3 separate regions of the Homo sapiens genome follow, and regions 1 and 3 are each linked to region 2. Evidence: promoter capture Hi-C in 16 types of primary human blood cells and fetal thymus (Javierre and others, 2016). All regions are on one chromosome and are shown on one strand. The core of a region is centred on a gene start or on the middle of the fragment in contact, and the rest is flanking DNA. Distances in the headings are between cores, read along the strand shown.

What was found. The method cuts DNA at HindIII sites, captures the fragments that hold promoters and counts their contacts. A CHiCAGO score of 5 or more calls a contact.
Region 1: a fragment that was not itself captured here is called in contact with the fragment with the promoter of ROR1 in region 2 in 5 of 17 cell types (naive B cells, megakaryocytes, endothelial precursors and 2 more); the score reaches 6.6 in naive B cells.
Region 3: a fragment that was not itself captured here is called in contact with the fragment with the promoter of ROR1 in region 2 in 1 of 17 cell types (endothelial precursors); the score reaches 5.2 in endothelial precursors.

The regions. Positions count from the first base shown.
Region 1 is chr1:64,105,768-64,109,986 of GRCh38, reverse strand. The region is part of intron 4 of ROR1 (receptor tyrosine kinase like orphan receptor 1); the gene reads right to left. It overlaps ROR1-AS1 (ROR1 antisense RNA 1), which reads left to right. Exons shown (of 6, transcript NR_110666.1): 5 at 1,594-1,667. Among named protein-coding and RNA genes, the nearest start is that of ROR1-AS1, 4.3 kb to the left of the region's middle. The HindIII fragment of the contact is 176 bases long and covers 2,391-2,566 here.
Region 2 is chr1:63,772,336-63,776,273 of GRCh38, reverse strand. It overlaps ROR1 (receptor tyrosine kinase like orphan receptor 1), which reads right to left and starts at 2,257. Exons shown (of 9, transcript NM_005012.4): 1 at 1,766-2,257. The coding sequence starts at 1,856. RefSeq lists an enhancer at 633-1,196 and silencers at 1,062-1,356, 2,141-2,190. The HindIII fragment of the contact is 6,004 bases long and covers 1-3,938 here.
Region 3 is chr1:64,072,902-64,076,750 of GRCh38, reverse strand. All of the region lies in intron 4 of ROR1 (receptor tyrosine kinase like orphan receptor 1), which reads right to left. Among named protein-coding and RNA genes, the nearest start is that of ROR1-AS1, 37 kb to the left of the region's middle. The HindIII fragment of the contact is 1,632 bases long and covers 1,627-3,258 here.

The DNA.
Region 1 (4,219 bases), core at 1,229-3,728, 330 kb before region 2:
CCTAGAGGAAGTGATGTCTAAATTGACAGGGTTAGCTCTGGTCTGAGTTGTGTCTGTTGGTAGGGCTAATTAATAAGACATTCGGACATCAGAAGCCCCCAAAAGACAACAAATTCCTGCCCATCCCACCCTACCATATAATAAAAGGAAGGCAGGAGGGCCTGAATGAGGTAACTCACACCTATAATCCCAGCACTTTGGAAGGCAGAGCGGAGGACTGCTTGAGCCCACGAGTTTGAGACCAGTCTAGGCAACAAAGTGAGACCCTGTTCTCTACAAAAAAATACAAAAATTAGCTGGGCATGCTGGTGTGTGTCTGTAGTCCAAGCTACTTGGGAGGCTGATGCACGAGGATTGGTTGAACCTGGGAGGTTGAGGTCGCAGTGAGCCGAGATTGTGATTTTTCAGAAAGGATAAGTAACTTTGCCTACAGGGCTCTTCTATAGCACAAGGAAGATTCTATGTGTGAAAGTGCTATCTAGGCACTGTGCACCACATCATAAGTGCAGGAATGGAGCTCAGGGCTTGAGTCAAAAAGATGTGATTTGAGCCCAAACTCTGCCACCTGCTCAGAGTGCTCAGAAAATACCCTGGAGAAGTTACTTATCCTTTCTGAACCTCATTTTCTTCACTTATAATTCCAGCTACAGCAGCCTCATAAGACTGTGAAGATTAAAATTAATAGGAAATGTGTAATTTTTAAGTAAACTTTAATGTAAGCTGTTTTCATGCCAATCTTGTGCATCGGAGCTGATCTATAAGGTCTAGAAGATTTGGCTACCTCTGCTCTGATAAAACTCAGAACAATAGTTGATGCCATGTCTCTCAAACTGGGGTGTCTGTAAGACACACCTAGAGGATGGACTAAAGATGCAGATTGCCAGGAACCACCCCCAGAGATCTAAGCCGGGGGTTTGTATCAGAAGTACCTGTGGAGCTTCTTTTGCATTCCGATTCCTGGCCCAAGCTCTAGAGACTGTGATTCAGTAGCTCTGGGGTGTGTCCAAGATACCTGTGGCCCTTTAAATAAATCATTTTCCCTGGGTTTTCTGGAGATTTGGATTTAGTAGGACTAGGACAGGGTCCTAAACATTATTTTTAACAATCCCCCAAGGGATGCTTACGACCCTGTAAGGGTGACCCATATAACAGAAGCTTGTTGAAACTTGTTGCCAAATGACTTTCTTCTGTATCTCTCTACACATAATCTCCAGAATACAGAATGTCCCTTTGAGACTTCATCTCTCTGACTTTTCCATTTTAGACTGTCATTGCTGAACACTCTTTTGCTAACTTTTTGTTGTAGAATGTTGTATTGGTGTGTGTGTGTGTTATGTGATGGGTGGAGTGGAGGCTCACTCAACCTGACTTGCCTAGGCACTGGGAGCCCCATAGTGATTCCCACGGCCAGCTCTGCCCTTGTCACTTAACTCTTTATCCCAGAAGTGGAGTGTTGAATACACCCAGCAATTTGAATGTTCTGGTTAATTGAGATTTTTAAAGACCACAGTGACTTCACATTTTGTGTCCTAGCACTTAAAGCTAAACAGTGATTTTTTTTTTTTTTTTTTTTTTTTTTTTTTTTTTTTTTAGATGGAGTCTCACTCTGTCGCCCATGCTGGAGTAAAGTGGTGTGATCTCGGCTCACTGCAACCTCTGCCTCCCAGGTTCAAGTGATTATCCTGGCTTAGCCTCCCTAGTAGCTGGGATTACAGGCATGTACCACCATGCCTGGCTAATTTTTGTATTTTTAGTAGAGATGGGGTTTCACCATGTTGGCTAGGCTGGTCTTGAACTCCTGACCTCAGGCCATCCACCCACCTTGGTCTCCCAAAGTGCTGAGATTACAGGCATGAGCCACCATGCCCAGCCTAAACAGTGATTTAAACACACACACACACACACACACACACACACACACACACAACAAGAAAACAAAAAAATCCAGATGTTAAAAATATGCTGCCCAGATCAAGACCAAAATTTATACATCCATATAAAATAATTAAACATGTCATTTATTCACCAGTAAAATGATTATGATTTAATGCAGAGCCAAACTCTGACCACCGATGCTGAATATTTATGGCTGGCTCCCTCAGAACACAGAGGTAGCTGCAGAAATATGCTCTTATTCTACCCTACCTTCACTTGATGAATGATTATTTTACTTAGAGTGAGTGAGACTGAATTTGAAAATACGTCAGAGGTGAGGCCCAGTAAAATTCTATTTATAAATAGGGGTTATTGTAATCAGCTCTAAGTGGGCTTAAAATAGAAATCTAAAAAGTGAATTGTTAAAAAAAAAAACCAATACAATCTTTACTAATCAGAAAAGCACTCAATTTCTGGCACTTTAATGTGCATTCTGAAAATCTATTAACAAAGCTTGACTTAAAAAAAAGACCCCTAGTTCCCTTATTTAAACTTGTGAAAAGAAAGAAAAAAACACAAAGGTGAAACATAATAGGTACTGCATAATGATCACAAGGATGGAACAGCAAAGACGATGAAAAAGGAATTTATGATGATTACCCTGTGAAAACTCTCTGAAGCACATAAAGCTTTTTAATCACCTAAACTAGCTATCATTGCTCATAATAATTCTCACATTTGTATAGCACTTGACAGAGAGCTTTGTGGTTAAGAGAGTCTGAGGCTTAGAGCCAGACATTCTAAGTTCAAATGCTGGCTCTGCTACTTACTGACCACCTGCACTCAAGTAAATTACACAACCTCTCAGTGCCTCACTTTTGTCGTCTGCAAAATGGGGGCAACAACTACTGAAAAGGTTATTCTAAAAATTAAATGAGATAATACGTGTAGAGCACTTAATATAACGCCCAGTACATAACACACATAATAAATTGTACCTCTGACTATTATTATTACTCTATGATCATTTCAACAATCATGTGAGGAAAGTGTTATCATCCTTGTTTTACAGATGAGGAAACCGAAGCTCTTGGGGTAACACGACTTGTGAAACTGCATGCTACTCCTCAGTGGCAGGGTGGGGACTCTGGACAGAGGAACTGGCAAGGTCTTCTAGACCTTTGACGTGCATAAACTGGCAGGTTTACAGAATAACGAGGAAAACAAAGTGAAACAAAAGACTGTACCCGTGTGCTAAGAATTTATTACCCGCACATCAAAAAACTTATCCATCACGATCAAGCTGGCTTCATCCCTGGGATGCAAAGCTGGCTCAGCATATGCAAATCAATAAACATAATCCGTCACATAAACAGAACCAAAGACAAAAACCACATGGTTATCTCAGTAGATGCAGAAAAGGCCTTTGATAAAATTCAACATCCCTTCATGTTAAAAACTCAATAAACTAGATATTGATGGAACATATCTCAAAATAAAAGAGCTGTTTATGACAAACCCACAGCCAATATCATATTGAATGGGCAAAAGCTGGAAGCATTCCCTTTGAATACTAGTACAAGGTAAGGATGCCCTCTTCTCACCACTCTATTCAACATAGTATTGAAGTTTTGGCCAGGGCAATCGGGCAAGAGAAAGACAAAAAGCATATTCTAATAGGAAGAGAGAGAGTCAAATTGTCTCTATTTGCAGACAACATGATTGTATATTTAGAAAACCCCATCATCTCACCCCAAAAACTCCTTAAGCTGGTGAGCAACTTCAGCAAAGTCTCAGGATACAAAATCAATGTGCTAAAATCACAAGCATTCCTTTACACCAACAATAGACAAGCAGGGAGCCAAATCATGAATGAAGTCCCATTCACAATTGCTACAAAGAGAATAAAATACCTAGGAATACAGCTAACAAGGGATGTGAAGGACCTTTTCAAGGAGAACTACAAACTACTGCTCAAGGAAATAAGAGAGGACACAAACAAATGGAAAAACATTCCATCCTCATGGATAGGAAGAATCAATATCATGAAAATGGCCATACTGTCCAACGTAATTTATAGATTCAATGCTATCCTCATCAAGCTACCATTGACGTTCTTCACAGAATTAGAAAAAAAACTACTTTAAATTTCATATGGAATCAAAGAAGACCCTGTATAGCTAAGACAAGCCTAAGCAAAAAGAACAAAGCTGGAGGCATCAAGCTACCTGACTTCAAACTATACTACAGGCTACAGTAACCAAAACAGCATGGTACTGGTACCAAAACAAACATATAGACCAATGGAACAGAACAGAGACCTCAGAAATAACACCACACATCT
Region 2 (3,938 bases), core at 1,008-3,507:
ACAGTGAGCAAAATCAATGCAGGGACATGTATTTAAAGGTAAGTGACCCCCACCCCCACAAGGGGCTATGATCTAAAAGCAACTATTGTTGAAAGGTGAAGTACAAAGTAAAGGAGTCCACAGGGGAAATAACTGAATTAACCAAAGCCCCAAGCCAGGAGTCCCACCTTAGTTAAAATCACCCTGCTTATCTCCACCTCAATTTGCTGGGCAACCCAACTTGAGAAGGATGTTTACATTACTTAGGCAGCATGGCCCATTTTTACTTTTCACCCAGGTGTTGTGGCGCAAGGCCAGATGTTTGGCATCACCAAGCAAAACATCTATGTGACCAAGCTGTTTACATTTCATTAGGATTTTTCATCAGGAAGGTGCACTCCCTGCTGATGCACATCTTAATTACAATTAGGAGCTCTATTTACCCCCAGGAGCTTTCAGATTAGCACGACCACATTATAGGATCCGTTTCAGAAATCATCCTCAGAAAATGCTACTCTAGCTTCCAAAAACCATCTCTAAGAAATCAAAATTTCACACAACTTCCTTCCAGAGTGTGTTTTCTACCAAGAAAGTCAGCTAACTTTTAGTAAAAACTAATTCTGCATTCGTAGTCTATGTAGTGAATACATCTTTTTCCTCTCAACTGCTAAGTAGCGCAGAACTTTTTCTTTTCCTAAACACAGTGCTAACTTAAAAATGAAAGATGCATGATAAAAGAGCAGAGATCTATTTATCCGCTCAGGTTTAGGGCTGGGAGTGGGGGAGGGCAGAATCCAAAGGCTCCTCACCCCCTCAAGGGATGCATGTTAAAAGTGAGGCCCGAGACCCCGGAGACTTTAATCAACTTTCCCCCTCCAACCTCCAAAGAATGAATCGGTTGTCTCCACAGGCTCAGCCGGGCTCTTCCCTCTCATTGTGTACCGGCTCAGACGCAGCAAGGACCCCAGCTTCCCGCAGCGAACTAAGACGCTCCGGCTTGCGGTGAAGTCTTTCTCTAACTGTTGCGATTGTCTTTAGAGATTACCAAAATCAAATATGCATTAGATGGCTTTTCCCCCTCTTGTTTGTAACACGCACACACACACGCGCGCGCGCGCGCGTGCACACCCAAAGCACTTTGGAGCCGCAGGCCGCCTCTGACAGCACATTTTGCACAAAGTGGCAGCGGCTGCAGCGGCGCACAAGTTTTGGCCTCTATGATGACTCTCGGGAGGGCCGGAGGGCCGGGGGCGGTGGCGATGCGAGGCCGCCGGAGCCCCAGGAGGACAGGGCTTTTGTTTGCGTCGATCCGCGAGCCGCCTGGGCTCTGGCGAGCACCACTGAAAATCCAAACTCCCTCCTGGACCGCGCCTTCCGGGCCGGCTCGCAACTTGGGGGCAGGATAGACTTGCCTGAACACCGGCTGGGGCGCGCTAGAGGTCCAGGGAGACAAGGGGGGACGCCCTGCACAGAAGTGCCCCGATCACCCCCAGGACCCTCAAACCCCTCCACGCTTCCTGTCAGCGCTGACAATCGCTGCTGCGCACCGAGGAACGAGTCCCTGGGCGCGCCCCGGCCCGCCGCGGGGCTCCGGGGCAAACCCTGGCCTGGCGGGGCTCCGGGGCAAACCCTGGCCTGGCGGCGCCGGCGAGCCCCGTGGCGGGTGGCCGGACGCGCCCCGGAGCCAGCGCGGCGCTTCCTGCGTGTCCCGCGCCCGGCTGGACGGCGGAAGGGTGGCCACGGGTCAGGGGGTCTGGGCGGGCGGGGGCCGGCGGGCGCCTCTTACCTTGGGCAGCAGCCCCGCGTGCGGCCAGCAGCAGCGCGGCCAGCAGCGCCAGGAGCGGCGGGCGCGTCCCGCGGCGGCGCGGCCGGTGCATTCCTCCTCTCGCTGAGGCGGCGGCGGCGGCGGCTCCCAGGCCGCGCGCAGAACATCCACGGGCTCTTCCCGGGCTCCCGGCCGCCTCGTCCCGGCCGCTGGCGCTCGCAGGACGCCGGGGACGTCTGCAAAGCTCTTTGTCCCTCTAACCTGCTCCCTCGCCTCCGCCTGGCCGCCTCTGGATGCCGCGAGCGCGATCCCTTCCCAGCCCTCTGGCTGCAGCCTCGCCTGGGCCGGCGGGTCAGTCCCAGGCTGTCCGGGTCGCACCAGTGGGCGTGAGTCGCCCTGGGTCGGACTCCGAGAACAGCGCACCCTGCGCCCAGGGGCTGCCGTCCCGGGGCTCCCTCGGCGGCGGCGGTGGCGGCTGCTCCAGCTCTCCACGCTCCCTCTCTCGCTCAACTTGTCACTTTCCACCAACTCTCCAGCCCAGCGCCCCAGCCCCGACCAATGGGAGACGCGGCCCAGGCTGGCGACCCAGCGCCCTCTGCTGCAGCCTCTCAACGCCCGCACCCTCCCCGACTTCGCAGAAAGCGGTCGCGGCTCCCGCGTCTCGGGCACGCTCCCTCCCCTCCCCTCCCCCACACTCCTCAAACTCGCCACCGAACCGAGCGCCGGGGACCTTCGAGGCTACTTGACAGAAGGGGAAACCGAGGCTCAGAGAGACTTATCCGGGATCTCAAGCCAGTTCGTGGCTGGACGACAGTAGACCCAGGTTCTAGCAGCCTCAGCTGTGTCACTGTTAGCTGTGTGACTCTGGGTAATGGCACATTTATTGCTATCATACAATTTCCCTTTTGCTTTCTTCTTGGACCCAAGAGTTGAGAGAGTTCTTACACAAGTAATTTATACTTCGCCTTTTTGTCTTTAATTTGTAGTCTCACTGAATTCAATGTCATCTGTACTGCCTCCTGGCAAGATTTATTGAGGATTATCTGTGGTTATTTTTGCCAATGTCCCATGGTTTTTTGAAAGGTGTTTTTGTCTTCCGAATGTGAAGATAGAATACTGTATCGATTTATCTTCTTTGTATTCATTATTTTTTCAGGCCTTCTGAATCTTTGCATGTTTGTTTGTTTGTTTGTTTTTTGTCTAGCTGCTCTGCCATGAGCCAAGGGATCATTAAAGACCTCTACAATGAGTGTGTTTTTGTCCATTTCTCCTGGTTTAACTTTATGGATTTTGTAATTCATAAATACCCATAATGATTTGACTTTCCCTGTAGAGACTGCCTTTGATCATAAAAAGTGGTGAGCGCCTGCTGTTTTCAGGGCTGTGCTCTAGGCTCTGAAGATGCAAGGGTAATAGGACACCTGTCAGTCTTGCTCTGGAGGAACAGGAAGAAGCCCATAGTCTCTCAATAATCACGTGGCCACTTACTAAATACCTCCTGTTTGCCTTGTGTTTTATATGCATTTGCTCACAAATCCTCCATTGACACTAAAAAGAGTCATTAAAAGTATATACTTCTTAGCTGTTTTACATATATTATCCCCATATTACAGTTTTAGAAATTGAAACTCAAAGGGAAAGTAAATGACTTGCCCACAGTCTCACAGACATGGGGTAGCCAAGCCAGCACTCAGGCTGTTTCCACTGAGAGAGTTAAAGCCTGTAACCAGAGCCTGGCACATGATAAGCACTCACTCGGGAGTTGTTGCTGTTGCAGTAGCCTCTAAGAACCCAGCTTTAGGGTTTTAAAATGAACAGTCACTTCATGGAGGGCGAGGACTCTGTCTCAATCATCTAGGTATCTTGCTGGCCTCTAACAGTACCTGGAATGCAATAGGAGCTCAATTAATGAACAAAGGTTAGGTCACCATTTGGAAAATATTAATTTCTCATCATATTTGTTTTATAGGGGTGCATGGAGGAGGGACAAAATTTCATCCATACTCCTTGGCACCAGGAAAAGCAGATCCCTGAGAGCTGAGACATTAGAAGGGGGAAAAAATGCAGCCCAAAGTATGTCCCAGCAGGTCATGGACTCCAGACTCCCAGCCCTTTGCCTTCAGGCAGGTGAATGACTAACCCATGCGGGACAAACAGTCACTTATTCTTCTCCAGGACTTCATGGCAGGAGCTG
Region 3 (3,849 bases), core at 1,193-3,692, 300 kb before region 2:
ATTTTTACTTAATTGATGTTATTCGAGACAGAAACAAAGAAATGTGTTACTCTGGTTATCCTGTGCTGCTGTTTAAAAACAGTAAGACATTTGAAATATGGTAAATAGTCTGTGGACTTCCACTACACCACACTATGAGGTCTGACACTTCCAGAATTGTACCACTATTTGTAAACTGGTTTTTAATGCACTGCACAAATGGCTGCATGCCAATTTTGTTCTTGGTGGCATTCTCTAAATTGAGGCAAGTTTCTTTCTATCAGGAAGGCATGCAGAGGTCTTTCCTTTGACCTGGATGCTTATCTGGAGAAAACACAATTTTAGGATTTCCTCAAGCTGTTTGTATAATCCCTGAAGGTGCAGATCATAAAGATTTCAAAGGCATTGTAGGACCTGAAGAAGAAATGAAAAGGTCACCTTTGCCCTTAGCTTTGTGTGTCCATCCACCAGGGAATCTATGGGCAAGGCTTACTGGTGACTCCAGGTGTGTACAGAAGGGTCCAATTTCAAAGTACTTGGGGAACTCTTGCTCTAAGACCCAAATAAGAGGTTGGGGCTTTGATTTGCAACAGAAAGACAGCCTCAAATTGTTTTGCAGATTCCTTGCTACTCCAAGAAATAAGATTCAGTGAGATCAGGAGAATAACCTCCAGCTAAAAGGTAGTGGGATTCTTCTTCCTCTGTCAGCAAGAAGGGTAGGAGAACTGAGCTGACAGGAAGACCCACAGTAACACCTCTTGATAGGTGAGGCACAGAATATCACACTGGAGGAAACCCACTGCTGGAAAAGTGACAATCATACTTTCCTGTGGTCACTTATCAAGCCAGCATAATCTGCAATTTGTCAAAGGCCTTTCCTGACTTGGGTGTCATTCATTCTCACCACATTCTGAAAAGGTGTGGGCAGAACCATAATTTGAACTCAAAGAGATGGTGCACTGAAACGTGAACTCTTAGAGCCATTAAGCGTAAAGGTGTGGAGTGTAGCATTACTTATACATGTTTTTAAAAGATGAAGCAAGAGCAAGTTGATACACTTAAAGTGATTTTAGGAGAACATATACATTAGGAATGAGGGACAGGGAGATCTTGTTACTTATAAAGATGCCTGAGATACAGTGTTAAGTGAAAAAATAAGGATGCAACTGCATATACACGGTTATTGCAATCACAGGGAAAATGTATAGGACAGTGACTGGAGGCATTCATAGGAGCTAACATTGATGGTGTATTATGTGTCAGATGCTCCATACAGCATGAATTATCACTCTTAAACCTTGCCAAAAACAAAACAAAAAACCCCTATGAAGAAGCTTCTAGAAACATCGTATAAGGACAGATGAGGAAACTAAGGCTGAGAGAAGATAAAGTAACTTGCCCCAGATCACACTGTGGTGATCTGGTGGGCCTAAAAGCAGATAATCTTAACCCCCTCTATATTAGAAAAACATGGTTCTGTTGTGGTTAGTGAAGTTATATGTACATTTTTTTTACTCTATTCTCTAGATGTTCTGAAGTGTAATTTTATTAAATTTAAAACATTTTAGGGTGTGTATTAAGAAATTAGAACTTGAATATTCAGATTATGTATTCAGCTCTCATTGGACAGTAAATGTCTGATAAGCTTATTGTTTGATCAAGCACAGGAATGACAAGGTTACCCCAAATCGGATTCAGCCAACATTTTTAAAGCACTGGCTATTGGGAGGATTAAATGAGATAAGGTATGTCAGGAGCTTAGCACAGTGCCTCGGGAACACTAATAAGCACTCAACAGATATTATCTACTATTATTATCATGTGCCAGGTACTATCCTAAGGGCTCCCACGTAGGTTATCTCATTTTATCCTCACAAACACTGAATGTCAGGTTATTATTTATCTTCATTGTGCAGATGGAAAAAAATTGAGATTTGGAGGTTAAGTAACTCCCCCATTGTTGCTCAGTTATTAAGTGGCGGAGCCAAGGTTAGTGCCCTGCCTGCACCTGTGCCAGTCTCTAACACAGGTAAGGCATAGAGTCATATACTTGCCCAAACTGGTAGCACAATCTGGTGTGGATTTTCCCCACCCATACATAAGTCCACACTGGGGAACTATCCAGGTAAGTTCAAACTTCTCATCCTGGGATTCCAAGTCCTCTGGCATTTTCCCTGCCTCTATTTGTCAAAACCCACTTTTCATTTCTTGTCCACAGATCTTCATTTTAACTGAGTTCTCCCTCCCTCTGTGCCTTGCACAGAGTTCTGCATTCTCTTGGTCTCACCTAATCCTCTCCATCCTTTAAGATCAGTTCAAGTTCAGCCTCTGCCAGGAAGCCCACCCACCCACATCAACCTCTCCCTCTCTTGACTTCCCACAGAGTTTAGTTTCTATCTAATTATACTTCATGCCATTTAATCCCTTAAATAGTTAATGTAGCTACTCCACCTTGCAGAAGCTGAAAAAGAAAAATGAGGGTTGAGGGGTAAAGGTGTTTATAGGCTTATGTAACTGACAAGTCCAGTGACTTTGGGGCACGGTTGGATACCCAAATACACTAACTGGGCTGGCTTGGTCATGTGGCCACCCTGATTTAGGTAAGGGTCAGCTCCACCTAGACAGAATGGGCATGAGGTGGTTTTCCGCAAAGGAAAAGCAAGCAGTTCTTGTAAAAAGAAGAATAAATGGACATTGGGCAAGCAAGCACAGCAGATGTCCCTGACCTTATTGAATTAAATTCCTCAGCACTTTAATAATAACTGTCCTTCACTGGTCAGGCACCAGACTGTAACCCCGTTAAGAACTGCCAAGCAGCAACAGAGGTCTTATTAACCTCATCTCCACTGAAGTGAGCCAGGCCCCAGGGCAGAGCTACAAAGGGGAGCTTACAAATCTCTGACACAGCATTTTAATGCCACAGGGGATTTTTTTTTCCTTTCCCACACATTGTGTTAACCCTTCGGGAACAGGGGGGAAACCCAGTGTAGAGCCCATTAGTGGCTTTCCTTCAGAGCTCTTCAAAGAGGCCCCATCATTTGCCAACATGATTTTTCTTAATATTGTGCAGATGGCAGGCTAATCCATCTTCAAATGATCTAATTGCATCTAACTTTCTCTGAAGAAACATTGCATGGAGTTGCGATGTCTTAATTGTGGGGTGTATGCAGAGTGTCTCCAAGATTACAGAGCCAAGCACTCAAACCAAAGCTGGGGAATTTCTAGTGGAAACTCTCAGGGGAAGAAAACAGAAGGTGAAGATTGGCAAACTGGTAAGCTTCATCATGTCCAGTTCTTAGGGCCCAGTCTTCAAAAAATTGAAGTCATGCTTTCACATACTGGCTGCGAATTTCCACTCAGGGCTTGTAGAGGCTCCCCTGTGCCTTCAAAGCCTTACACTTGCATTTACCATGGAGAAAAATGGGTAAAATAAAGGAGCACATGGAGCAGGAAGGGGCACACAGAGGAGTAGTTGGATCTTCTGACTGATTGGGCAAGAATGAGGACCCCCAAGTGGCTAGTATTTTCTCAGGGGTTCACTGACCTTCCACTCTCTTAGCCCAGATACCTTCACACACCTTACAAAAGGCCTAAATAAATAAAACAAATTTACATAGAGGAGGGAAGCTAAGCAAAGTAGGGGTTCAGGGTGGTGAGACTGGAGATGAAGCCTGGAATTTCAATGCTTCTGCATAGGTGAGAGAGGAGCACACAGAAGTGGGTGAGGCTACCATGAATACCAAAGGCTCTCTTGCAGTTAGCATTTCCTTTAAATCTTGTTTATTTTATTTATCTTGTTTTTTCATCACAACTACTCTAGTAGGGGTTGAATTCTTATCTGAATTTACATTTGGGAAAAACCAGGCTCCC